4 separate regions of the Homo sapiens genome follow, and all the other regions are linked to region 3. Evidence: promoter capture Hi-C in 16 types of primary human blood cells and fetal thymus (Javierre and others, 2016). All regions are on one chromosome and are shown on one strand. The core of a region is centred on a gene start or on the middle of the fragment in contact, and the rest is flanking DNA. Distances in the headings are between cores, read along the strand shown. Region 1 has its middle 17 kb from the start of TLX1. Region 2 overlaps LINC01514 (long intergenic non-protein coding RNA 1514). Region 3 holds the start of POLL (DNA polymerase lambda). Region 4 overlaps LBX1-AS1 (LBX1 antisense RNA 1).

What was found. The method cuts DNA at HindIII sites, captures the fragments that hold promoters and counts their contacts. A CHiCAGO score of 5 or more calls a contact.
Region 1: a contact is called between a fragment that was not itself captured here and the fragment with the promoter of POLL in region 3, in 1 of 17 cell types (endothelial precursors). The highest score is 7.3, in endothelial precursors.
Region 2: a contact is called between a fragment that was not itself captured here and the fragment with the promoter of POLL in region 3, in 2 of 17 cell types (endothelial precursors and neutrophils). The highest score is 5.7, in endothelial precursors.
Region 4: a contact is called between a fragment that was not itself captured here and the fragment with the promoter of POLL in region 3, in 2 of 17 cell types (erythroblasts and endothelial precursors). The highest score is 5.8, in erythroblasts.

What each region holds. Positions count from the first base shown.
Region 1 is chr10:101,145,230-101,151,035 of GRCh38, reverse strand. No RefSeq gene overlaps it. Among named protein-coding and RNA genes, the nearest start is that of TLX1, 17 kb to the right of the region's middle. The HindIII fragment of the contact is 2,312 bases long and covers 1,603-3,914 here.
Region 2 is chr10:101,193,754-101,200,463 of GRCh38, reverse strand. LINC01514 (long intergenic non-protein coding RNA 1514) reads right to left here. Exons shown (of 6, transcript NR_120620.1): 6 at 6,317-6,710. Among named protein-coding and RNA genes, the nearest start is that of LINC01514, 21 kb to the right of the region's middle. The HindIII fragment of the contact is 6,853 bases long and covers 1-5,174 here.
Region 3 is chr10:101,583,521-101,590,100 of GRCh38, reverse strand. POLL (DNA polymerase lambda) reads left to right here and starts at 1,844. Exons shown (of 9, transcript NM_001174084.2): 1 at 1,844-2,279; 2 at 2,695-2,855; 3 at 3,945-4,239; 4 at 4,623-4,785; 5 at 5,182-5,499; 6 at 6,420-6,580. The coding sequence starts at 2,741. DPCD (deleted in primary ciliary dyskinesia homolog (mouse)) reads right to left here and starts at 1,780. Exons shown (of 6, transcript NM_015448.3): 1 at 1,701-1,780. The coding sequence starts at 1,764. RefSeq lists enhancers at 1,495-1,824, 1,925-2,204. The HindIII fragment of the contact is 7,368 bases long and covers 1-3,008 here.
Region 4 is chr10:101,232,410-101,238,174 of GRCh38, reverse strand. It overlaps LBX1-AS1 (LBX1 antisense RNA 1), which reads right to left. Exons shown (of 3, transcript NR_029380.1): 2 at 5,741-5,765; 3 at 1-236. Among named protein-coding and RNA genes, the nearest start is that of LBX1-AS1, 5.7 kb to the right of the region's middle. RefSeq lists an enhancer at 1,215-2,137. The HindIII fragment of the contact is 3,789 bases long and covers 1-3,756 here.

The DNA of each region.
Region 1 (5,806 bases), core at 1,509-4,008, 440 kb after region 3:
CCCTTACATCATTAAAATCAGCCTGATCTAAAGTTACAATGTCAGAAACAGTATACCCTGAAAGGAACCTGAAAAGTTTTTGTTTGTTTGTTTGTTTTTTGTTTTTTATTTTTTTCAGAAACGGAGTCTTGTCCCCCAGGCTGGAGTGCAGTGGCGCGATCTCAGCTCACTGCAACCTCCGCCTCCTGGGTTCAAGCAATTCTCCTGCCTCAGCCTCCCGAGTAGATTGGATTAGAGATATGCACCACCATGCCAGGCAGATTTTTGTATTTTTAGTAGAGATGGGGTTTCACCATGTTGGCCAGGCTGGTCTTGAACTCCTGACCTTGTGATCCACCTACCTCGACTTCCCAAAGTGCTGGGATTACAGGCATGAGCCACCATGCCTGGCTGAAAATTTCTGAAGACAGGAACACTGGAGAGGATTTATCATGGGCCACTTCACCCAGCCACAATGTCTCTGGAAAGGATCCCAGAAGATGTCTCCTTCTCAAAAAACTTGAAAAATACTTTGGTCAAGGCAATAACAGAACCCCTAAAAAGTGCTTTAGTAGACTGTTCACTGCAGGCCACAGGTCTGGGTAAAGGACATGGTGGGAAAAAGTATAAAGAATAATCTTTTGGGATGGACATAGATTGTAAAAATATTTGTGTTTTATGAAAATGATCACCAAAAATACCTGATTTAAAAGGTTTTTCAGCCAGGCACAGTGGCTCAGGCTTGTAATCCTAGCACTTTGGGAGGCCAAGGTGGGCAGATCACTTGAGCCCAGGAGTTGGGGCAACATGGCAAACTTTATCTCTACCAGAAAAAAAAGGCGGGTGTGGTGGTGTGCAACTGTAGTCCCAGCTACTTGGGAGGCTGAGGTGGGAGGATTGCTTAAGCCCAGGAGGTTGAGGCTGCAGTGAGCCATGATCCTGCCACTGCACTCCAGCCTAGGTGAAGAGTGAGACCTCATCTCAAAAAATAAATAAATAAATGGTTTTTCAAAATCAAGTGGACAAGATAACCTACTCTGGATCTCAGTCAGTCTCCTTCCCGGGCACTGCAAGTCCTGCTCAATGTGCTCTTAAATAAATGGGCCCAAGATCAAGAAGAAAGAAAGCTGTGCATAAACTCAACATCTCCCAAGTCTAAGCTTACTGCAAAATTAACCAATTTGCCAGCAACTGGGATCAGCTTCAAGGCCCCTACTGTGTAGAAACTTACCACAAGATACCTCACTGGTGCCTCTATACCATAACGCCAGCGGCACCAATGAGGTATCTGGTGGTAGGCTTGTATATGCCTTTTCTGAGCGTCAAGCTTCAGCTAATACATTCATTCAAGGCCTTATAATTGTCTAGTTTTCCACACAACATTGCTGTTGACAAGAATACATTTTGCAGTTTTAACAATGGGCTAATATCCACTAGATTCACCTAGAGCCTACATTTCCCAGCCTCCCTTGCAGCTAGCTCTTCTCAAAGGAATGTAAGTGAAATATGCACAACTTTGCAGTCATCTTCTTAAAGAGCTTGCCTTGGAGTTGCTGCCCCCTTTCCTTCCTCTGTCAAGGATTGACACAAGTTTGGAAGGTGGCTGCGGAGAATGGCAAAGCTTCCTCACTAGCCTGGGCCTCCCGATGCCTTCACAGAGCAGAGCTATCTGTCTTTCCTAGATGCAAGAGAAAAAATAATTTATATCTTGTTTGAGCCACTGTATTCTGTGTTATTAGAACAGCCTGGTTTGTCCTTTACGGTAGTGTGGTGCAGTACTTCAGGATGAAACATATGCTATGAGCTGGTACTTAATATTTGCTGCTATTTCCCCCATAGCCTGATTGTATGACCCCAAAAAGAGAGGGCAATACCTTCTACAAGTCCCCAGTGACACCCTCACTTTCTGTGACTCTTGTTTCTACTATATTAGAGTTAGAGTCCCCAAGAGAAGAAAGTTCCCACCAAGAGAAACAATGTTTTCACTGAAATGGGAGCATAAATTCTTACCTGGTCACTTCTGGTTGCTCCTGTCAATGGATGAGCAAGGTTAAAGGAGACTATGGAATTGGCTAGAGCGGTAGCAAGTTCAAGTAGAATGTTTTCCTATACAATGGGGCAAAAAGGAGTATTCATGGAATCACAGGGCTCCCTTGGGGTCCCTTGTAGTGCTGTTATGTCCAGGGGTAAAAGTTAATGGAAGACCACGACAGCCCTTTCTAGGCAGGACCATCAAGGGCTCAGATCCCTCAGGAACAAAGGCTTGGCTCTCTCCAGGATAAAGAACCCAAACCAGCCCAGGTGCTGCCTGAAGGCAAAAGAAACAGAATGGAAAAGGGAGGAGGAATGTCATGAATACGAAATATGCAAAAAAAAAGACAATGGTTTTTACGTCCTGACCTGTTGTCATATTAGACAGTCTATATTTTAACTTCATGCATTTTCTTCCATTCTTATTCCCTTGTAATTGTATTATTATTATTATTATTATTACTATTTTTTTTTTGAGATGGAGTTTCACTCTTGTTGCCCAGGCTGGATTGCAATGGCATGATCTCAGCTCACTGCAACCTCCGCCTCCTGGGTTCAAGCAATTCTCCTGCCTCAGCCTCCCGAGTAGCTGGGATTACAGGCAACTGCCACCACATTCGGTTAATTTTTTTTTTTTATTTTAAGTAGAGACAGGATTTCACCATGTTCACCAGGCTGGTCTCGAACTCCTGTCCTCAAATGATCCGCCTGCCTCAGCCTCCCAAAGTGCTGGGATTACAAGCATGAGCCACCATGCCTGGCCACTACTATATTATTATGTGTGATGATTATTAGCTTTACAATTTAGTCTAATCCACAAGTTGCACAATATTGAGACCAGATTCCAACAGAACTAGAGAAGGAAGAGAACAAAGGTATTGAACTTAGAGCTATGAGGCTTTGGATTGTCAGGAAAGTTGAATATATTTTCTGTCATGAGTGACAGTAACATGTTAGGTGGGAGCATTTTGTGGAGGAAAAGCCTGTAAATTTAGGAAGAAAGGCATATGTGAATATTGGGCAGCCAAAGGGGTGGGTCCCCTCGAGTGGGTCCCCCCACCCTTTTTTAACCTAGCATCTGAACACTTCCTGATAGGGAGACTGTCCTCAAACAGGGTAAATATTGGTGGAACAGTTTTAGCTTTTAATATGGAAGTCTAAGGGACTATGCTCTTCCCTCCCATCTCTGACAACTAGTGCCTGGACACATGTCCTACTCTTAGTGTCGTTAAATGATACTCCATGAGTTTTGAATCTTGAGGGAGTGAAGTGAAGATGGAGGAAAAGTTGGGAAATTACTCTCAGTGATGTTCATGCCGGAGTCTAGCAGCATGTGGTGCTAGCAGCAGTGCCTTAACGAAGCATTCCTGTGTTTCCTGAAACTGATGTTCCTTAATTCCTCAGCCTTCCTATTGATCCTGTAAACTACCGAATATCCCTGGAATCAGTGCATTTTTCTTCTCGGGTTAGCTGGACTCAGACTCCACACACTGAGGGACTGCAGAAAATCAAAGACTCAAGGGAGGAGAGTATTCCCTGCAGTCCAGGGTGGAGAAGCACTCTCTAAACCTTATACAGAGGAGAGGGCTTCTGGCTCCGTATTGGTTGGAGGGGACACTGTTTCCTACAGGCCCATTTTATGGACTCTGATCACAAAGCAGACCCGTTTGTCAGGACAACTGGGGTGGTTATTGACTTGCCAGACCAGTCGCCCAGAAATCCAAAGGAATCAGTCCCCTGAACCCCTACCCTGCCTCCAAGGACCATAAAGTCAGAGAAGTATAGAAGTTTCGGCTCCCTGGGGAGGAGGAGCCAGGGCTGGGTTAGCTCCTCGCCCCGCCCCATAACTCCTGGAGATTCCAAAGATGTGCAGAGGGAGTTGCAGGGCCGACTGTGATGAAGCTTACAGCACTGCCACAGGGAATTTCCAAGTGACAGGGACCCCAGGGTGCTTCTCCTCAACGGAAATTAACAGCACCTGAGCTCTCGTGGCCTTGCCCTTGCCCCGATCCTTCAGGGAGGCTGCGAGCTGGGCAAGAGAACTCCAGGGGGATGGCAGGGGGAGTGTGTGTTTCCCCTTCCAGGTTCTCGCCTTCGAAGTCCGCGCCTTGGAATCGTGCGCCCCATCCTCCGGTCGCAGGGCAAATCCTGACCCAAAGGACCCAGCCCTTTTCACGCTTTTCCTAGCGCCTGCCCTTCTGCTGCTGGCAGCTCCGGATCCGGGCGCCGCGCGGTGCCGGGTCGGCTTCAGCCCAGCGCTGCTCGCCAGCCTCTGCCGCGCAATCGTCAGGCGCCAATTCACTACCGCGACGGGCCCGGGTTGAGCTGGGAAGGGCCTGGTGCCCTGTGCGGTGCCCTCGGAGCCCTGGGGCGGCCTCCGCGTAGTCACGAGGTCTCCCACCTCATTCTAGAAATGAGACTCCGGGAGCCCGTCGGGAAAAGCAAGGGGTGCAAGACCCAGGCGTCCTGGAGGCCGTGGCCCGGGTCTGGGGTCCCAGGAAGGGATCGTCCACAAGCGAACCCCACGGCAGACATCATCGAGGCTCAACCCGCCTGAGACATGTGGCCCTGAAGCTCAGGAATCAAGAGACAGCCCCTCTCTGCCAGGGACGGGGACACCACCACTCAGGCCGCCTCCGCAGTCCAGGAAAGCGCGGCGGGGCCGGTTCCTTGTCCACGCGGTCTGGCGGAGCCCTCGCCCCTGGAGAAAGAGTCAGGTTTGGCCGAATTCTCCAGCTGCTGTGGCGACCGTGGGGTTAGAGTCGCACCACCCCTCGCGGAGCCCTGGTCTGGAGTCCGAGCTGACTGGAGGCTCGAGTCTGGGGACTCGTCAGAGCCAAACAGATGGCTACGGGCTGTGTGTTTTTCCCTGCACCCCTGCCGCGCCCTTCCACACCCTAGAGGGCCAGATTTGGAGGGCGACGGTGCAAGATGTCCCTGCCCTCCGGAAGAGGTTTATATTCGGCCTCCTGGATGCCGGCGGGGCTGCGCTTCAAAATGAGAGCAGATTTCTCGTCTTTTCACAAATCTGGTGAATTACATCTCGGCATCTAGCCCGGCCCGGCCCGGACAAGTCCTTGTGGTGGGGTGTGGGGTGGGGCGCTTCTGGGTCATTTACTAACAAGCCCTCCCCCCGCCCCCCACCAGCTTGCCGCAGGGCACAGAGCGGCCTGGGCACAGTGAGGCTGGAGGGAAGCGAGTTTTTCTCACTTACGGGCTGTCTCCAGCGCATGGCCTGGCACCTCCATGCAGGTGTCCCTTGGCAGCTCAGGAGCTCAGTGGATCTCTGTGAACGTTTGTGCTTGGCTTCTTCTGGAGGTGACACCCCAAGACAAGCCAGGACATCAGGCTGCTGTGTGGAGGGGACAGTACAACCCACCCCAGGGCGGAAGGCTCAGGGATGGCTAGGGGCACCTCCCTGGAACTGAAGGTTCTGCTCATTTAGTGCAAGCAAAGACTCCAGGCCTTCCAAAGATCTGTTTCTTCAGCCCATCTCCCACCCAGACAATCCCATCCCCCTGCTCGACTTTACATGGAGGGAGAGAAGCCAGTCTTGCAGAGTCCAGGCTGAATGGAGTCCCACAGGCACTGGAAACCTTGGGGCTTCTATGGGGTTAATAAATTGGTTCCTCCATATTCTTTTGCCCACTCCTCTGCAGAATTCGCCCCAGGGCAATAATCACAATAACCATACCACCGCTGCGCTGCACCCAATTTCTGGCCTGAGATGGGAAAGGGAGAGAAGTCAAAGCCTGCAGATGTGAAGCCTCTGATTCCCAAAATGGGTACAAGAATA
Region 2 (6,710 bases), core at 499-2,998, 390 kb after region 3:
ACCTCTGCAGCACGACCTTCCAGCCCCAGTGAAATCTGTAGCACTATGTTCAACTTCCAGAATTCTGCCTTCAGTGTCAAGCGTGCAGGGTTCCAGGATTGTCCAGGCCTGGTGAAATATTGATATTCGTCTTCCCTGAAAGGATAAGTTGCGATCAACGTCATACATCTGTCAGATAGGAGTCAGCCCTTGGAACTTTCCGTAGGATTCTTTGCCACCCTCCACAGAATGCATGGTGGGTCAGATACTGTGACACTGGCCAATTCTCTCTCAGCAATGGTGGCAGGAGGTGGGTGAAGAGAGGGACAGTCGGTTGGCATCACCGTGAATTCTAGTTGTTTGCAGGGGATACAGCGTGGAAGAATATTCTCGGCCTCTGAGAAGAATTGGCCCTTCTATCCAGCTGGAGATACTCTTGAGGCACACAATTCCAACAGAGAGAGGGGCAACAGGTACCCCAAAGCTACCGGCAATTGCTTCAGTCAGCTCTGTTCAGTGGCAGGGAATGGGATCCTACCCAAAGTAGCTTGATATAACAGCTGCAGAGGATTCCTCTTTTTAGAAAAAGATTTTTATTTTCAATTTTTGTGGGTACCTAGTGGGTGTATATATTTACAGGGTACATGAGGTATTTTGACACAGGCATACAATGGGTAATAATTACATTAGGGTAAATGGGGTATCCATCACCTCAAGCATTTATCTTTTCTTTGTCTTATAAATAATCCACTTATATTCTTTTAGTTTTTTAAGTGTATAATAAATTATTGTTGACTGTAGTCACTCTGTTGTGCTATCAAATACTAGGTCTTAGTCATTCTTTCTATTATAACTAATATGTTTTTGTACCCATTAATCATTTCCTGCCTCCCTCAACCACTACTCTTCCCAGCCTCTGGTGACTATTGCTCCACTGTCTGTCTCCATGAGTTCAATTGTTTTAATTTTTAGCTCCCACAAATAAGTGAGAAGATGAGAAGTTTGTCTTTTTTTTTTTTTTTGTGAGATGGAGTCTCGCTCTGTTGCCCAGGCTGGAGTGCAGTGGCACAATCTCGGCTCACTGTAACCTCTGCCTCTCAGGTTCAAGTGATTTTCCTGCCTCAGCCTCCCAAGTAGCTGGGACTATAGGCATGCACCACCACGCCCGGTTAATTTTTTGTATTTTTAATAGAGACGGGGTTTCACCATGTTGGCCAGGCTGGTTTTGAACTTCTGTCCTCAAGTGATCTGCCCGCCTCGGCCTCCTGAAGTTCTAGGAATACAGGTGTGAGCCACCACGTCTGGCCAGAAGTTTGTCTTTCTGTGCCTGGCTTATTTCACCTAACATAATGATCACCAGTTCCATCCATGTTGTTGCAAATGACAGGATCTTTTTTTTTTTTTTTTTGAGATGGAGTGTTGCTCTGTCATTCAGGCTGAATTGCAGTGTCATGATCTCAGCTCACTGCAACCTCCACCTCCCAGGTTCAAGTGATACTCCTGCCTCAGCCTCCCAAGTAGCTGGGATTACAAGTGCATGCGACCATGTCTGGCTAATTTTTGTATTTTCAGTAGAGACAGGGTTTCACTGTATTGACGAGGCTGGTCTCAAACTCCTGACCTCAAGTGATCTGCCCGCCTCAGCCTCCCAAAATGCTAGGATTACAGGCATGAGCCACTGCGCCCAGCCAACAGGATCTCATTCTTTTTCATGGCTGAATAGTACTCCGCTGTGTATAAGTACCACATTTTCTTTATCTATTTGTCTGTTGATGGACACTTAGGTTGTTTCCAAATCCTGGCTATTGTGAATAGTACTGCAATAAACATGGCAGTGAAGATATCTCTTTGATAAGCTGATTTTCTTTCTTTTGGGTATATACCCAGCAGTGGGATTGCTGTGTCATATGGTAGCTCTATTTTTAGTTTTTTGAGGAACTTCCAAACTGTTCTCCATAGTGGTTGTATTACTTTACATTCCAACCAACAGCATACAAGGGTTCCCTTTTCTCCACATCCTCGTCAGCATTTGTTATTGCCTGTCTTTTGGATAAAAGCCATTTTCACTGGGGTGAGATGATATCACGTTATAGTTTTGATTTGCATTTCTCTGATGATCAGTGACTGAATACCTTTTCATACGCCTGTTTGCCATTTATATGTCTTCCTTGAGGACTCCTCTTTGACCCTTCCCTGGAGGTGGGCTGTAGCAGACAATGGGACCCCCACTCCACCAGACCTGGCTGGTTGGAGCAGGTAGGTACTGACCCAGACTGGGCCTGCCAGAGTCTTTCTCCTGGGCATTCGGACAAGGGCTAGACATCTCTGTGGCCGGACATCTCTGTGGCCACTTGAACTTGCATAATCTGGGGCTATTGACAGCCATGTTTAGCCTCATGCACATGGAGAATTGAAGGAAATTGGTCTCAAATAAGATACTTGAGACCATAGGCCCATTTAGAGAAGGTCTGCCTGGCTTTCAGGTCATCCTGAGACCCAGGTGTGCCACCTGTCCCAGGGTTCCAGGAGACACCTGCCATCCTTATAAGGACTACCCTTTTAAAGCCGGGTGTGGTGGCTCATGCCTGTAATCCCAGCACTTTGAGAGGCTGAGGCGGGTGGATCACCTAAGGTCAGGAGTTCAAGACCAGCCTGGACAACATGGTGAAACCCCGTCTCTACTAAAAATATAAAAATTAGCCAGATGTGGCAGCAGGTGCCTGTAATCCCAGCTACTCGGGAGGCTGAGGCAGGAGAATCTCTTGAACCTGGGAAGCGGAGGTTGCAGTGAGCTGAGATTGTGCCACTGCACCCCACTCTGGGTGACAAGAGCTAAACTCAATCTCAAAAAAAAAAAATAGACTACCCTTTTTGCGTAAGTTAGCCTGGGTGGGTTTCTATCAGTTATACCTCCAGAAAAGCCTAAGACAGGGTATATTATACGGGTTCAGAGAATGTCACAGAAAGAAGGGCAGGAAGCACACTGGGGCTCAGGAATTAGGAAAATTCTGTCTCTCTCTCTCTCTCAATTTGCTCATATGGTTCTCGTCTCTCCTATCTATCTCAGCAGGCTAGCTTTCTTCTTTTTTTCCACTAGTGAGTCCCCAACCAAATTGTTGTCCTAGTCCTGAATCTATACAACCTTCAGTTCCAGCCATCAGACTGTAATCCCTCCCTCTCAGTTGAAATATGAGGGAGAGGCCGGGCGTGGTGGCTCATGCCTGTAATCCTAGCACTTTGGGAGGCCGAGATGGGCAGATCACCTGAGGTCAGGAGTTCGAGACCAGCCTGTCCAACACGGTGAAACCCCATCTCTACTAAAAATACAAAAACTAGCCAGGCGTGGTGGCAGGCACCTGTAATCCCAGCTACTCGGGAGGCTGAGGGAAGAAAATCGCTTGAACCCAGGAGGTGGAGGTTGCAGTGAGCTGAGATCATGCCACTGCACTCCAGCCTGAGTGACAGAGCAAGAATCCATCTAAATAATAATAATAATAATAATAAAGAGGGGAAGAGGGCGAGAGAGAGAGGTTGATTCTGCCCTATGTCTTGGTTCCCCTTTGGGTCAAGTATCCACTCCTGCTCACACCGACCGTGACTGGAGGAGAAGGAGGCTCACACAGCACATTAATCAGTGCCCTCTCCCCGGCCTTTAAAGAAGAGACAGAAGTTTAACTCAAAGTAGCCCAAGGGGAAAGGCAGAAATGGCTTAGCTCCCATAAGTGATACGAACAGAGCAGGGAGGGCTTCTGGAACAACTGGGTCCAGAACACCAACCATGTCACTGGGGCTCGGCTCCTTTCGCTGTGCCGGCCTCATTTCCTCATGTTGGACCTTCGTGTGGGACATGGGAAGACTGACAACTCGAGGATTCTGTCACCTCAACTAGTGACTTTAGGGTCAAGAAAGACCCTCCGCCTCCTATGGCCTGTATGTAAAATCCCCGTTAAGGAGCTGATCAGCCGGTCTGAGTCAGGGACCCCTCCCTGGGCTGATCTTCCCTGAGCCAGGGGTGCAAGAATACGGTGATCAGCAGCCCCTCCGTGCCCACGTTGTGGTGGGGGGACTTTCTCAAAGAACGGAGCTGGTCGGGAGGGTCCTGGCCGCTGTGCTTGGTCTGTAGTGTGACACCCCTGTCAGGGGCTGGGGCTGTGGCAGAGAAACTAGCAGGGAAGCCAGGTGAGGAAGGTGGCAGTTAATGGCTCTGGAGGCTCCTCTTCTGTGGTCCTGATCAGCTCTTACTCCCAGGCCTGGCTTTGCAGACCTGAATTATTCTGCTGACAGCCCTTTGGCCTCCTTTATGTTCTTGTTCTCCCTGGAACTTTAGTGTCCTGCTAGGACTCATTCTGCCTGGCCTCAGCCGATGGGCTCCGGAGCCTGCTCCACTCTGGGGGAGGATTCCCAAAGCAGGACTCTGAGCCAGAGCCTGCCACTCCCCCGTCATGGGTTGGCACTGCCCATTGGGGCTGGAGGCCTTGGCTCCCAGGGGCCACTGGAGCCAGAAGAGGTCACTGTATGGAGTTGAAATGGTGTGCACCCGCTACGACATTACCAGCCCAGGCATTTGGCCTGGAGGATCCCAAACTGAGCTGGCTTCTGCCCCATGGAGGGAGGGTCTTACTAGCCCTTCTAGTAGCAATGATGAGCCCCTCTCTGTGTTGACTTCTGTCTTAAGCAAAGTTTTGTCAATTGCTAACAAGAATAGAAGGACGTTAGAGGTCAGAGGCCTGCAGGCAAAGCCTGCCTTCAAAACCGAGACATGGGGAGACGCCAGGATTACTTCACAACTCCAGCTGTCTCTCAAACAAGTCTGTTCAGACATCTTCAAATAAGCATCTAGCACTTCTCTCTGCCAGAATGTTGACACTCAGGCTTGCTTTCCCAGGGCTGAGTGATGCCTCCGTGGCTCTGGGTAGAACACCCTCCTGGGCTCGGAGGCGCAGCCATTGCCAAGAGGCAGGAGAGTAAAGCGGGGCATTCCTGCTTCTCAATCAGTACCTCTTCTGTCCACAGAATCCCTCAGCACAAATCACCTGATACATTGGACAAATCTGTCTGGACTCTTCAAAGATCCCATTCTTGGGAGTGAGGAAAGAGGAAGGACTGTTTTCCTTTCCCCCACCATCCCTTCCTATTCCCCACCTCTCAGCTCTGGCCGGGAGATCCCGAGAGTGGCTACAAAGGAGGCTGAAGCTTGGAGATTTCAATAGAGGCCTAGGATGGGGAAGGAACTTGACCCCTGTCTCACTGGGCAGCCTGGGGTGTACTGCTCCCGGGACCTACAGTCCTGCAGAGGTGGGAACTGGCCTCAGTTAAGGTCTAGTAAGTGCCAGGATGGACGTACCACTTGTGTGAATTCAGGAACTCCCTTTTAACAACCTTCTTATTTTGAAAAAATTTTAACGCACTGAAAAGCTAAAAGAATAGTATAATAAACTCTCAAATACCTTTTCACTGATAATGAATATTTTACTACATTTTATTCTCTCTTCTTTATAAAAACACATGCATTTCATGCATAGATGTAATCATTTTAGTTTTTGTGTATGAGCCATCATTTGAATATAAGTTTAAGTTTCAGACATCATAACCCTTTATCTGTGAATACTTTTTACCATATATTTAAGTTTTGTTTGTTTGTTTGTTTGTTTTTGAGGGTCTTGCTCTGTCATCCAGGCTGGAGTGCAGTGGTGCAATCACGGCTCACTGCAGCCTTGACTTGCTGGGCTCAAGCGATCCTCCTGCCTTAGCCTGCTGTGTAGCTGAGACCACAGGCACATGCTATCACACCCAGCTAATTTTTTAATTTTTTATTTTGTGGATACGAGGTCTTACTTTGTTGTCCAGGCTGGTCTCCAACTCCTGATTCTTGACTTCCTGGGCTCAACCTCCTCCCGCCTCAACCTCCCTAAGTGTTGGGATTTCAAGGCATAAGCCACCACACCTGGCCGGCCCATATCTCTTAAGAATAAATACATTCTCAGGCCGGGCTTGGTGGCTCAAGCCTGTAATCCCAACACTTTGGGAGGCCAAGGTGAGTGGATCACCTAAGGTCAGGAGTTCAAGACCAGCCTGGCCAACATGGTAAAACCCCATCTCTACTAAAAATACAAAAATTAGCTGGGCATGTGATGGTGAGCGCCTGTAATCCCAGCTACTCAGGAGGCTGAGGCAAGAGAATCGCTTGAACCTGGGAGGTGGAGGTTGCAGTGAGCTGAGATTGCGCCATTGCATTCCAGCCTGGGTGATAGAGCAAGACTTGGTCTCAAAAAAAAAAATAATAAATAATAAATATATTCTCTTACATTTCCTCAGAACAATTACCAAGTCACGGACATATCATTGATACAATATATTATTCATCTATTACATGATCCACATTCAAATTTTACCCTTTGTCCCAATACTGTCGTTTAAAGCATTTTTCTTTTGACCAGATCCAGGGTCTGGTCCAGGATTCTGCGTTGCAGTCAGTTGTCATATCTTTTTAGTTTTCTTTAACCTGGTAAAGTTATTCTCAATCTTTGTTGCCTTTCATTATATTGACATTTCTGAAGAGTTTGGCTGTCTGGCAGTTTTCTCATGATTAGATTCCGTTTACGCATTTTTGACAAGGATGCTGCATGAGCAATGCTGTGTCCTTCTCGGCGCATCAATGGGGAAGCACAGGATGTCGGTTTGCCCCATTATTGGTGATGCTACCTTTGATCACTTGGTTAACATGGTTCCTG
Region 3 (6,580 bases), core at 595-3,094:
AGCAAACGCCTATTAATTCTTTTTTTTTTTTTTTTTTCCAGTTTTTTTGAGACAGGGTCTCGCTCTGTCGCCCAAGCTGGAGTGCACTGGCATGATCTCGGCTCACTGCTGCGTCTACCTCGCTGGCTCAAGCGATCCTCTGGCCTCAGCCACCACAAGTAGCTGGGACTACAGGCATGTGCCATGATGCACGGCTTATTTATTTTTTTGTCTGAGACACAGTCTCACTCACTCTGTCACCCAGGCTGGAATGCAGTGGTGTGATCTCAGTTCACTGCAACCTCCATCTCCCGGGTTCAAGCGATTCTCCTGCCTCAGCCTCCAGAGTAGCTGGAATTACGGGTGCGCACCACCACACCTGGCTAATTTTTTTGTATTTTTAGTAGCGATGGGGTGGTTTCATCATGTTGGCTAGGCTGGTCTCGAACTCCTGGCCTCAAGGGATCCGCCCACTCGGCCTCCCAACATGCTGGGATTACAGGCGTGAACCACCACATCCGGCCATAATTTCCGTATTTTTTGTAGAGATGAGGTTTGGCCATGTTGCCCAAGCTGGTCTCGAACTCCTGAGCTCAAATGATCCGCCCACTTTGGCCTCCCAGAGTGCTGGAATTACGGGCGTGAGCCACTGTGCCTGACCTTATTAATTCTTTAGGACCCAGAAACATCATCACTTCTGTTGGGTCTTCCTCCAAAGAGATGTCACTTACACCTTCACTCTTTCCTACCATTTTATACAAGACTACAACCTCTATTTAACGCTTCTTATTATTTAAGTACATGTTTTTCCCAACCACTCTGAGTCCTGGGACAACATATCTTTTTCTTTCTGTTCTAGTTTAGAGCTTGGCACATAGTAAAAGTCTTCCTAAATGTTGCACGAACGAGTAAATGATTTTAATTTCCACAAACTCCAGGCTTCCCTGATTGGCCCCTGCCTGTGAACATGAGTCACCAGTTGTTATCTTGAAAGCCTCAGGAACTTCAGACGCAATTCATCCTGGCTACCCAGTGGGTCCAGAAAGGACCCAAGTGCACAAAGGGGCCGGCATCGGCCAATCCTAGGGTGGGGAAAAGTTAGGTATCCATGCCCCTGTGCCCACTTCTTCCAGGCACAGCCCTTGGTTCTTGCTCTAGCTCCCCTAAAGACACAGAAAATATTTAGAAGTTCACTTAACAAAAATATTACAGCTGGAAAGGACCTCAGAGATAACAATGGTAGTCCATCCACTTCATTTTATAGATGAGGAAAGTGAGGCCCAAACAAGTAAAGGAGCCGACTGAAGCGCCCGTGGTGAATTAATGGCACAGTCGGAACTAGAGCCCAGGCCTCTCTCCTCTCTAAAGTCTAAAACATTCTTGGATTTCAGTTTCCTCTTCTGTAAAACGGGGTGAAAATTAGCCTCTCAGGACAGTGGTGAGGAGCAAATGAGATAATGAATGTAAAAGAAATTACTATATTAGCAACAGAAATCAGAGCGGAGCGAGATGGTGTAGAGGAATCTAAGGGGTGTCCGGAGACATGTGTTCCAGTCATGTCATCTCTGTGAACCTCAGTCTCCTCATCTGCAAATGCAGGACCTGGCCCGGCTGACCGCCGAGACCCTTCCAGCTCTGCCGACCCAGGCCCTGAGGCCCTTCCCGGAGGGCCGGACCCTGAGGGAAAAAAACGAAGGAGCCCGTGGGGACCCTCGAGTTACCGTCCTGCAGCAGCGCAGTCTTCTGGGCTGTCCGCAGACTCTCCAACCAGCCCGTCACCGCCATCTTTCCCCTGCTAAGCAGCACGCCCAGCCGCTGCCATGGCAACCGTTCCAGAGGGTCACTTCCGGCTGACTCGGAAGCTATTCTGGCCATTTGCCCTCCTTCCCCCCTTCGTCCGCTCTCATTGGCTCTGCTGGTAAGTGGTCTATTCCTGCCCACCCCCGGGTGACTAGCTTGGCCAGTAGTCGACCCCACCCGGGGACCGACTCTGGGGGTTGGAGAGACTCTTGGGGCCGGGGTCGGGCACTCCAGCTTTCTTCTAGCCCCGAGCTGGGATTCCCTGGCCTGCGCCAGCTGCGTACACGGCGAGTACACCGCACCTGCCCGGGACTTCACCCGCAGCTGCGAGACTCCTCCATTCCCGGAGGGCTCCCCACACCTGCTGCGGCCGTGCCCCATCTCCCCGCAGCTGCGGCGCTGAGCACCCCCATGTCGAGAGGCTGAGACCAGGACAGGTGCAGGGCGTTCCCACTCACCCCCGAAAGTCCTCCTCCTTCCTCTGCGAGTCTGTGTTGGAGGTAGAGAAATAGTATGTGGGGTTTATGTGCAGGTCCTCCCCAGGCTCCGCTCCATCCCCTAAAGCTCCATTTCCTAGCCCAGCATCCCATTTGGTAAAGCCCTTCGAAGTGGGCCGCAGCAGGGCTGTGCTGAATCTTTAGCGCAACCCCTCTGAGGAATGGTGTCGTTTCCTACTCCTCAAAAGTACCCCCGATGGCACCAGCCTTCCCCTCATTTCCCGTAATACTCCAACTTCGAAAGGCTGGGGAGTGTGAAGCTAGGCTAAACCACTGAAGTTTAACCGGGTTTGAAGAGACCCCCTCCCCCGACCCGCTTCCCCAAACTGGGCTGCTACCCCCAAAGCCTGGTCAGGAAAGACCCTACCTCCATAGGCAAAGGGGTTGGAGGGCCTCAATTCTGGATTTCCACGTGCAGCAGCCCTGACCAACGCTCCAATAGGCCGGGATCCAGCCATACTTCAATGGATCCCAGGGGTATCTTGAAGGCATTTCCCAAGCGGCAGAAAATTCATGCTGATGCATCATCAAAAGTACTTGCAAAGATTCCTAGGAGGGAAGAGGGAGAAGAAGCAGAAGGTGAGCTGACCCAGTCTCAGAACCCTCGTGTGCTTGAACCCACAGCCTTCATGTGCTTCAGCCCTACGTTGTTTATGTCCAGAATCAGATATTGGAGCTGACTCTGCCTGTCCAGGGCCTGCAGGTCTGTTTGTATCTACCTTGTGCTAAGCTTGGTCCTGGGTCTTGGACAGGCTATTTGCTGTGTTACCTTCTTTTCTACCCGAAGACCTCTATCCATCAGAAAAGACTCCCTGGGCCCTCAGGGAATGACCAGTATAATTTTTGCCCTGAGGACTGGGACAGAAACCCCCCTCCATTACCCAGGCTTGTTGTTAGTTGTTTTGCAGCCAAATTGGCAAATAAATGGCAGAGGCTTTGGAGGCAGGGTTGTCGGGTCTGTCAGACTGTAAGGGCAAGAAACGCGCTTTGTTGAAAGAATAAATGATAAAGGATTCAAAGTATGGAGAGAGGCTGGGCGCGGTGGCTCTTGCCTGTAATCTCAGCACTTTGGGAGGCCGAGGCAGGCAGATCACCTGTGCTCAGGAGTTCGAGACCAGCTTGGGCAACATGGCGAAACCCTGTCTCTACTAAAAATACAAAAAATTAGCCAGGCATGGTGGCACACGCCGGTAATCCCAGCTACTCGGGAGGCTGAGGCATGAGAATCGCTTGAACTCGGGAGATGGAGGTTGCAGTGAGCCAAGACGATGCCACTGTACTCCAGCCTGGGCGACAGAGTGAGACTGTCTCCAAACAAAAACAAAACAAAAGAAAACAAAACAAACAAACAAAAAACAAAGTAAGAAGGGAGGAGGCATTCATTAAACAAATATTTACAGGTTACTTACAATGTGCCAGACACTTCTAGATTGCACCAAGGAACAGGACGTATGAAAATCCTTGTCCCTTACATTCAAGTGCTGGCCTGTGAGAAAATTTGCTATATGTAGAAGGAAAGCTGTCTGGATGGAAGGGAAATGCTTATTTTCAGGGTAGGGGACTGTGAACACGTCATTCAGATCATGTTAGAAGTTATGTCGTGGCCAGGGGGTGGCAGATAAAAATTAAAAAGTTACAACAGTAGTCATCTGGATGTTCCTTCCACAGAGTGGCTGAGCTCCCTTCGGGCCCATGTTGTGCGCACTGGCATTGGACGAGCCCGGGCAGAACTCTTTGAGAAGCAGATTGTTCAGCATGGCGGCCAGCTATGCCCTGCCCAGGGCCCAGGTGTCACTCACATTGTGGTGGATGAAGGCATGGACTATGAGCGAGCCCTCCGCCTTCTCAGACTACCCCAGCTGCCCCCGGGTGCTCAGCTGGTGAAGTCAGCCTGGCTGAGCTTGTGCCTTCAGGAGAGGAGGCTGGTGGATGTAGCTGGATTCAGCATCTTCATCCCCAGTAGGTGGGCTGATCCCAGTCTTTTTTTCAAATGTTTTCTAGTAGCATCTTGAGCTCTTTTCTTGAATTATTAAAAATAACTATCATTAATTAAAAAATTAGCCAGGCATGGTGGGGTGTGCCTGTAGTCCCAGCTATAAGAGGTTTAGGTGGGAGGATTGATTGAGCCAGGGAGGTTAAGGCTGCAGTGAGCCTTGATCGTACCACTGTACTCCAGCCTGGGTGACAGAGCAAGACCCTGTCTCAAGAGAAACTCCAAAAACCTCAAAAAACTCGTTTTCTTAATTGGACACACTGGGAAACCAAGTATTTCAGAGTACAGAAGGACTGGGGACAGATACAGGGTGAGACCTTTGGTGTCTTAACCTCCCATCACCATCCCCACAGGTACTTGGACCATCCACAGCCCAGCAAGGCAGAGCAGGATGCTTCTATTCCTCCTGGCACCCATGAGGCCCTGCTTCAGACAGCCCTTTCTCCTCCTCCTCCTCCCACCAGGCCTGTGTCTCCTCCCCAAAAGGCAAAAGAGGCACCAAACACCCAAGCCCAGGTCAGGAGCCTCCCATCCCTCAGAACTCCCTTCCCCTAGGAAGCAGATCACAGAAATGGGGTGGGCCTGGTGGCTGTTCAGAAAGTCCCAGGCCCCTGAGAGAGGAGGGCTCTATTGTGAAGCCATTTAGCTCTTCCCAACACTCATCACTGCTGCATTTATCTAGGCCATATCTAACACATACCACTGGGGATCCTAGGGCTAGGCACTGCGTGGAGCCAAAGGGAACGTGGCCTCACACCCAAGGAGATCCAAGTCTGATGCAGAAGGCCCCGCCTCATTCTTAGGTCTGACTAGAAGACCCTCCCCCCGCACAAAGAAGATGACCCCCACCTTTAAGGATCCCTTCTCTTGGAGAACAAGAATTTATTGTTTTCTTTTCTTCTCTATCCCAAGCCCATCTCTGATGATGAAGCCAGTGATGGGGAAGAAACCCAGGTTAGTGCAGCTGATCTGGAAGCCCTCATCAGTGGCCACTACCCCACCTCCCTTGAGGGAGATTGTGAGCCTAGCCCAGCCCCTGCTGTCCTGGATAAGTGGGTCTGTGCACAGCCCTCAAGCCAGAAGGCGACCAATCACAACCTCCATATCACAGAGAAGCTGGAAGTTCTGGCCAAAGCCTACAGTGTTCAGGGAGACAAGTGGAGGGCCCTGGGCTATGCCAAGGCCATCAATGCCCTCAAGAGCTTCCATAAGCCTGTCACCTCGTACCAGGTACCCAGGGGCTAGAGTGGGAGGAGGGGTCTTTACTGGCCAGTGGTTAGTAACCCCAGTGGGGTTCAGGTACAGTGGTGAAGATTTTATGGGGTCTAGGACTTGCACAAAAGAAAAAAAAGGAAAATTGATGAAAGCAGATTGGCAAAATCTTGATAGTTGTTGAAGCTGGGAGATGTACGATACTTGGGGGTTATATGGATCTCTCTACTTTTGAATTTTTTAACATAATTAAAAGTTTTTTATTTTTAATTTTGTTTATTTATTTATTTATTCATTTATTTAGCAGAGATGGTGTTTTGCCGTGTTACCCAGGCTGGTCTTGAACTCCTGGGCTCAAGCAATCTACCCTCGGCTCAGCCCTGCAAAGTGCTGGGATTACAGCCATGAGCCCTTGTGTCCCGCCTAAAAAGTTGTTTAAAAGAAGTTTGGACTCTGAAGCCTAACAGACCAGGGTTTGAACTCTGGTTCCTGTCATTCACTAACTGTGTGACTCCAGACAAGTTACTTAAACTCTCAAAGCATCAGTTTTCTCATTAGTAAAAAGGGGCTACTATTAAATGAAATGGTCCCTGTAGCACAGGACCTGACATAGAGTAAGCCCTCAGTAAATGTTAGCTCTTGCTGTTGGAATGATGATGATGGTGGTGGTGGTGGTGGTGACTAATATCATCATTATTTTCTACTTCTTACTGCTGGTCTCCATCCTTCTGGGAACCAAAAGACAAATTACCCAGCCCTCATTCTATCCAAAATTCTCATCTTCAACTACACCCAAGCTTTACACAGCCACACAGTTGCCAAGCAGCCAGGCTGGCTTTTATGTCAGCATCTGCTAGAGGAGTCAGCTTCCTTTCCACTGGCTCTACCTCTTCCATCTCCTCACTCTTCTTTCTTGCCTCTGCCTCCTCCTCCTCTAGGAGGCCTGCAGTATCCCTGGGATTGGGAAGCGGATGGCTGAGAAAATCATAGAGATCCTGGAGAGCGGGCATTTGCGGAAGCTGGACCATATCAGTGAGAGCGTGCCTGTCTTGGAGCTCTTCTCCAACATCTGGGGAGCTGGGACCAAGACTGCCCAGAT
Region 4 (5,765 bases), core at 613-3,112, 350 kb after region 3:
TTCAGCCCAGCTCCTCTCGGCTTAGGTCACTCCAGGCCCTGCGAGGGCTGGATTCACCCGTCTAACGTCAGACTGTGTGGCTTAAACACAAGAGCCGCTCCAAACCCCATCTGCGTTCGAATCCCACCTGTGATGCTGGCCAGAGCATCGCGACCTTAACCTCAGTTTCTTCTTTGGCAAAATGGAGACATGGTGAGGATTGGAGGGAAGGTTTCTAATGCCTGGCACCCCATCGGCTGTAAAAAATAAAAATAAAAATAAAAAGTTATCAGCTGCTCCCAAAATACTCGTTAAAACAAACGGCCATTTCAGATCTAGAATTCTCAAGAACCTCACTTCCTCCTTAGGTCCCAACACAGGCGACTCCCTTTCTCAAACGAATGAAAAGATTTAGTCTCCCAACACCTTCTCTAAATCTCCTGCCTTTTACCAACGTCAAGACTCAGAGAGGTTGAAAGACTTACCCAGGATCACAGAGCTGGCTGGTGGCAGAGCCATCTGAGGCTAGGGAATCGCCAGCCCACCTCATCTGTCTCTGCGAAGACACCCGAGCTGCCTCTCGGAAGCCGCTCGAGACTCACAGTCCGGGCTAAGGCCACGAGGACGGCAAAGTTAGTCCAGGCCTCTCCCTAGGGGACAGGGCTGTGGCGGGTGGCACCTCACCAAACGAAAAGAAACGAATAGAAAGAAATACGTAGAGGCGGAGGGAAGAGGAAAGGAGACGGAGGAGGAAGAAGAAGATGGGGGAGGGCTGGTGGCCTCCCTGGAGGCTTGGGATCTGGCTATGCGGAATTCCCGTGAAGATCCCTTTTGAGGTCTGGTGCATGCCGGCCCCCGCAGGACTGGCGGAGCCAGGGCGGAGGTCTTGGCCCGAGGCTCGCCGCATAGGTGTAGGGAGGCTGAGTGGGGACAGGAGGGAGCGGCGAAGGAAGGGAGTCGACCTAATTAATGGAAGTGAAGGGGCTGGGGAGGAACTGGAGGGATTGAGCGTTGGTGGGTGTGAGATGGGATGAATGCAATCCCTCAGGATCGGGAACCCAGGGACTTGTGGGAAGTGGGAAGAGCCAAAGGGGCCGGGTTTCGCTCAAACGAAATAAGGTTTCGGAAGTTACGGAGTGTACCTAGGGGGCCGCGGGGAGACAGGGGAGTCTGGTCCTGCAGGAATTGCTTCCACAGGTCCAAGAAAGGCTGGGAGAGGCCCAAGTACGTGGGAGTTCAGAGAGGGCGGAGGGCCCTGCAGCTTCCCTGGCGCCTCACTTCAGGGCAAGGAAAGTCCTGGCCAGGACGAAGCAGCCCGGAGGGATCCCGGCTCTGAGCACAGATCCGAGCCTGGCGTCTTCACTGTGCTTGGAACCACGCCGCCCACGTTCCCTGTGCGGCTGGGCACTGCAGATGCTGGGTTTTCCACAGGTCAGACGTCCGCATCCCTTATTCTGGCTCCGTCTCGCCGCCTGTCTTCCCTTGCCCGGAGTCTCGGGACACCTGAGCGGCTTAGCTGAGGTAGCACTTCCCAGCAGGCGGCCCCCTGACCCATGGGGCCCGAGGGGGTTGGGACCGGGGAGGCTCTCTGAACTCGACCTGGGTAAATCCAGGATACTGGTGGGCGGGGGATCTTCCACCCGACTCCCTTTTCAAGTGCCTTAATTGGCTACTCCCCTCCGCGGGGAATTGGGCGCCGCGCGGCGGCGGCGGCGCTGATGCAACCGGCCCCCGCGCGACTGCTGAATTATTCACGTGCAGTTTATTTATTATGAGAAGCCTGACTCAGGCCTTTCCTGTGTCCATTTAGCCGGGCGGGCGGCTCCTCGGTCTCTTCGTCTGTCCCCACTAGGTCCTTCCACCTTTCCACCTGGCCTAAGCTCAGGCCCCATGCCCGGCCTGCGCCCGGCGCCCCCCGACAGTAGTGAGACCTCTGTGAAAGGGAGGGAGCTGACTACCATTAACGGTTTTTGGTCAGACTTTGATGTTTCTGGGCCGTTTGAGTTAGTAAGACAGAGGGTCAGCTCTTGGAGTTTCTGGGGATGGCAAGGAGAAGGGAACTCCAATTGTAGGCCCAGGAAAGCAGCCTCTCTCATCCCATCCCCACCCCTCACCCCACCCCATAAATAAGTAAATAGCCATCCCAGGAGTCCAGCAGCCCCTGGCTCTAGGCTGCAGACCTGCTGCCGATAAACAAGAGACTAAGGGTTTCACCCTTACCCAGTAGCTCACCGCCAGGACAACAGAGGGAGGAGCTATAGGGAACTCTGGAACCTCTCTTAGGGTGGCATCTTCGGGCTTGTGCTCGGCTGTTCCCTTTGCCTCCAGGATGGTCCCTGCTCCTGCACCTATTTACATGCTCCTGGTTTTACAAAGTTCAACTCAAATGCCACCTCCATCAGGAACAGAACCAGACTCTCCCCCCACACCGCGCCCCCCCCCCCAACACACACACACATGCTCACTTAGGTTCCTTTATCCTCTTCACAGACCCCTGGGCTACTGGAGTGGCGTGTGGGTGTCTGTTTCCTGCCACTCCTGCCTGCCCATCACCTCCCATCTTCTGTCCATTCTTCCTCTCTGCTTCTGGGCCCAACGAATGATGGGGGGGTCAATCCTATTTTCTTTCTTTCCTTTCCTTTTCTTTTCTTTCTTTCTTTCTTTTTTTTTTTTTTTTTTTTTTTTTGACAGCGTCTTGCTCTGTCACCCAGGCTAAAGTGCAGTGGTGCGATCTCGGCTCACTGCAACCTCCAACTCCCAGGTTCAAGCAGTTCTCCTGCCTCAACCTCCGAGAAGCTGGGACTACAGGAGCATACCATAACACCCGGCTAATTTTTGTATTTTTAGTAGAAACAGGGTTTCACCATGTTCACCAGGCTGGTCTCAAACTGCTGACCTCAAGTGATCTGCCCTCTTCGACCTCCCAAAGTGCTGGGATTACAGGCCCAGCCACTGCGCCCGGCCTTAATCCTATTTAAAAAAAAATCCAGCCTGGGCAACATCATGAAACTCCATCCCTACAAAAAATACAAAAATTAGCTGGGCTTGGTGGCATGCTCCTTTGGTCCCAGCTACTTGGGAGGCTGAGGTGGGAGGATCACTTGAGCCTAGCAGGTCGAGGCTGCAGTGAGCCCAGATTGTGCTACTGCACTCCATCCTGGGTGACATAGTGAGACCTCATCTCAAAAACAAACAAAAAAAGCAAATGAAGGAAGTTCATTACTAAGTCAGACCACACCACCACAGCTGGGTCCACAACCCAGGAAACTCACTCCATAGCCAAAAAGCATTAGAGAATGAGGCTTCTGGGCCCCTCTGAGTATATTGGTGTGAGCAGTAGGAGCACCGCACGCATCTGCAGGCAGCTGGCAAAACCAATACACCTACCCCTGGTCCTCTCTCTGAGGCACAGGCTAAGTTCCCTGTCTGGCTCCATTTTTGTCCCTTGTTTATTTATTTAGTTTATTTACTCAACAAATGCTTGGACCCCTTGGTGTATGCTGGGCTGGCATAGGGGCATGGAGAGGTGATTCAGGTCCTTCCTTCCCAAGTTCACAACAGATGGAGAGAGAGAGGCAGGACAGACAGACAAAGCAACACATTCTTGGCAATATGACAGTGACATCCAGGGGAATGTGCTAAGGAGCGCAGAGGAGCTGAACAGGGCAGAGAAGGTTTCCCCCAGGAAATGAGTTGAGCACTAGAGACAGAGCAGGAGGTGCCAGGAAAGGAAGGGACACAAATCATCCCAACCCTTGGATGAGGGGAGCAAAAGCTTGGAACCAAAAGAGAAGGCTGTTCTAGAGGCTGCAGAGAGTGGGCACCCAGGACTTGAGCATCTCTGGGAACTTGTCTCTTCTCCTCCCTTCCTGTCTCTGTCACTCAGTGGTCTGTCTATGTCCCCCAGTACTTCCAAAGGGCAAGCACTCCCCGCTCCTTCCAAGCAGGATTACAGTGCCTGGAGGAGGCTGGTGCATGTGGTATGGTCACCTTGTCACAGTGCTCTGAAGGAATTCAGCTCACAAAAGAAGTAGGGAAGGGGAGAATCAGGGAGGGGACCAAAGGAGTGTCCTGCCCTCAGATGGTGCCCCACGTCTTCCTGCCAGCTGAGGTCCTAAGAGCTGGGTGTGGCCAGAAAAAGCAGGGCAGGTCCAGGAGCAGGCTTGGAGCCCAGCCTGAATTTTGAAGCAGCTGCCTCCCTGCTCCCCAGGCCTGGGAGGAGGCCGCTTCCATCCCCCTTCCCCAGTGGCTTGCCTCCCTTCCCTACAGTGGCCTGATTCCAGCCTTTACCTTTTCTGGATCCCCACCCGCTTTGAGAATCCTGGGTGTTATATAATATTGCTCCCAGAAAAATGTGCCCACCTGGGTACACATATAAATTTCTGAGATTTACAGAGCCCCTGAAGCCCATTCAAAGAGCCCTTGGGGGACCTCTGGTTAAGAACCCCCTGGTTCAGGAATTAAGGGGACAGACTTGAATAAGAAACAAAACAAAACAAAAGGACAGTGTTCCAATCCTGATCACTCCAAAACAGGCTGTGTGACTTTGGATGGGTTACTTAACTTCTCTGGGCCTCATTTTCCTGTTATGTAAAATCGGGGTAAGAGCATAGCTACCTAGAAAGATTGTGAGTAATAAATGAAATGAATAAAACTCTTAGCCTGGAGCCAGGCACAAGGTAAGGGCTTATGGTATTTATTGTCATGGTTATTGTTGCTGTTACTGCAGACAGTGGCCCAGGGCAAAATGTAAAAACCAAGTGGGCAGTCCTGACTTAGCCTGGGTGGCAGGAGGCCGTTTATCATAGTCCACTTCCATAGGAGAAGAAACACTCTGAATTCCACACAGAGTGTCAGAGTAGCAGGTCTTCATGGGACAACAACAACAACAGTAAAATGATCCGCACTGCTGGCCAAGTTAACTTGTTTCAAGCAGTGTCAGACCCTTTTCTCTAAAGGAACTCTGGCCTGAGAGTCAATGCTGGTGCTTATACAAATAATCTGGAAATGAATGGGGGTACCAAAACAATCCAGAGTGAATCCAATGGAGTCTTTGGGGGTTTAAGCGAATTCTTCTCCTGTGTTAAGGTTTAACCTGTTTTGTTTGGGTCTGCAGGGTCCCCTTATTGTGGCAATTCATGAAATGCTGTTTCCCTCTTCTTTGTCTGGAATATTCCCTAAACTGAGGGAAAGCAGATTTTTGGCAGAATGATCCCTTCCCTATCCACTGAGAAAGAATAAACCTGGACCCTGGCTGTTTAAGCAGCAAACAGGAATTGAGGATCATGGTAGCATATAGATTATGCTCTGAAGACAGGTATTCCCTCTGTGGAGCAGACTCTGGGAATCAGCTGCTTTCAGCTCCAGGTGAGAAGATGCTGGCCCAGCTGACTGGGGGTGGGGAGACCCCCAGAGTGTCTGCCTTGCCCCAGCATGGGGGCTCAGTAGGGGATTGGGCAGAAAGATTGGAGCCCAGAATGTCAGGGCTGGCTCTACCCCCACTGACCCTGTGTTACTCATTTCTGGAATCCTCCTAATCTCTAAACTCCTCTGAGGGGCCCAAACCATTCCCCTCCACATTGCACAATCATGTATACCCCATTTGCTCTATGGAAAGTCATTCAACCGATATTCAGCGGGAGCCCGGTGTCTCCTAGGACTTCGAAGGTCCGAGATGAACTGGAATACCCAGAGGAAGGCTCCTGCCCTCAGGTCTGGCAGAGGAGGCAGGTAGGGGTCAGTACACAAACCCAAAACATACCTCATTGCTCTGCAAGAGGGGTACA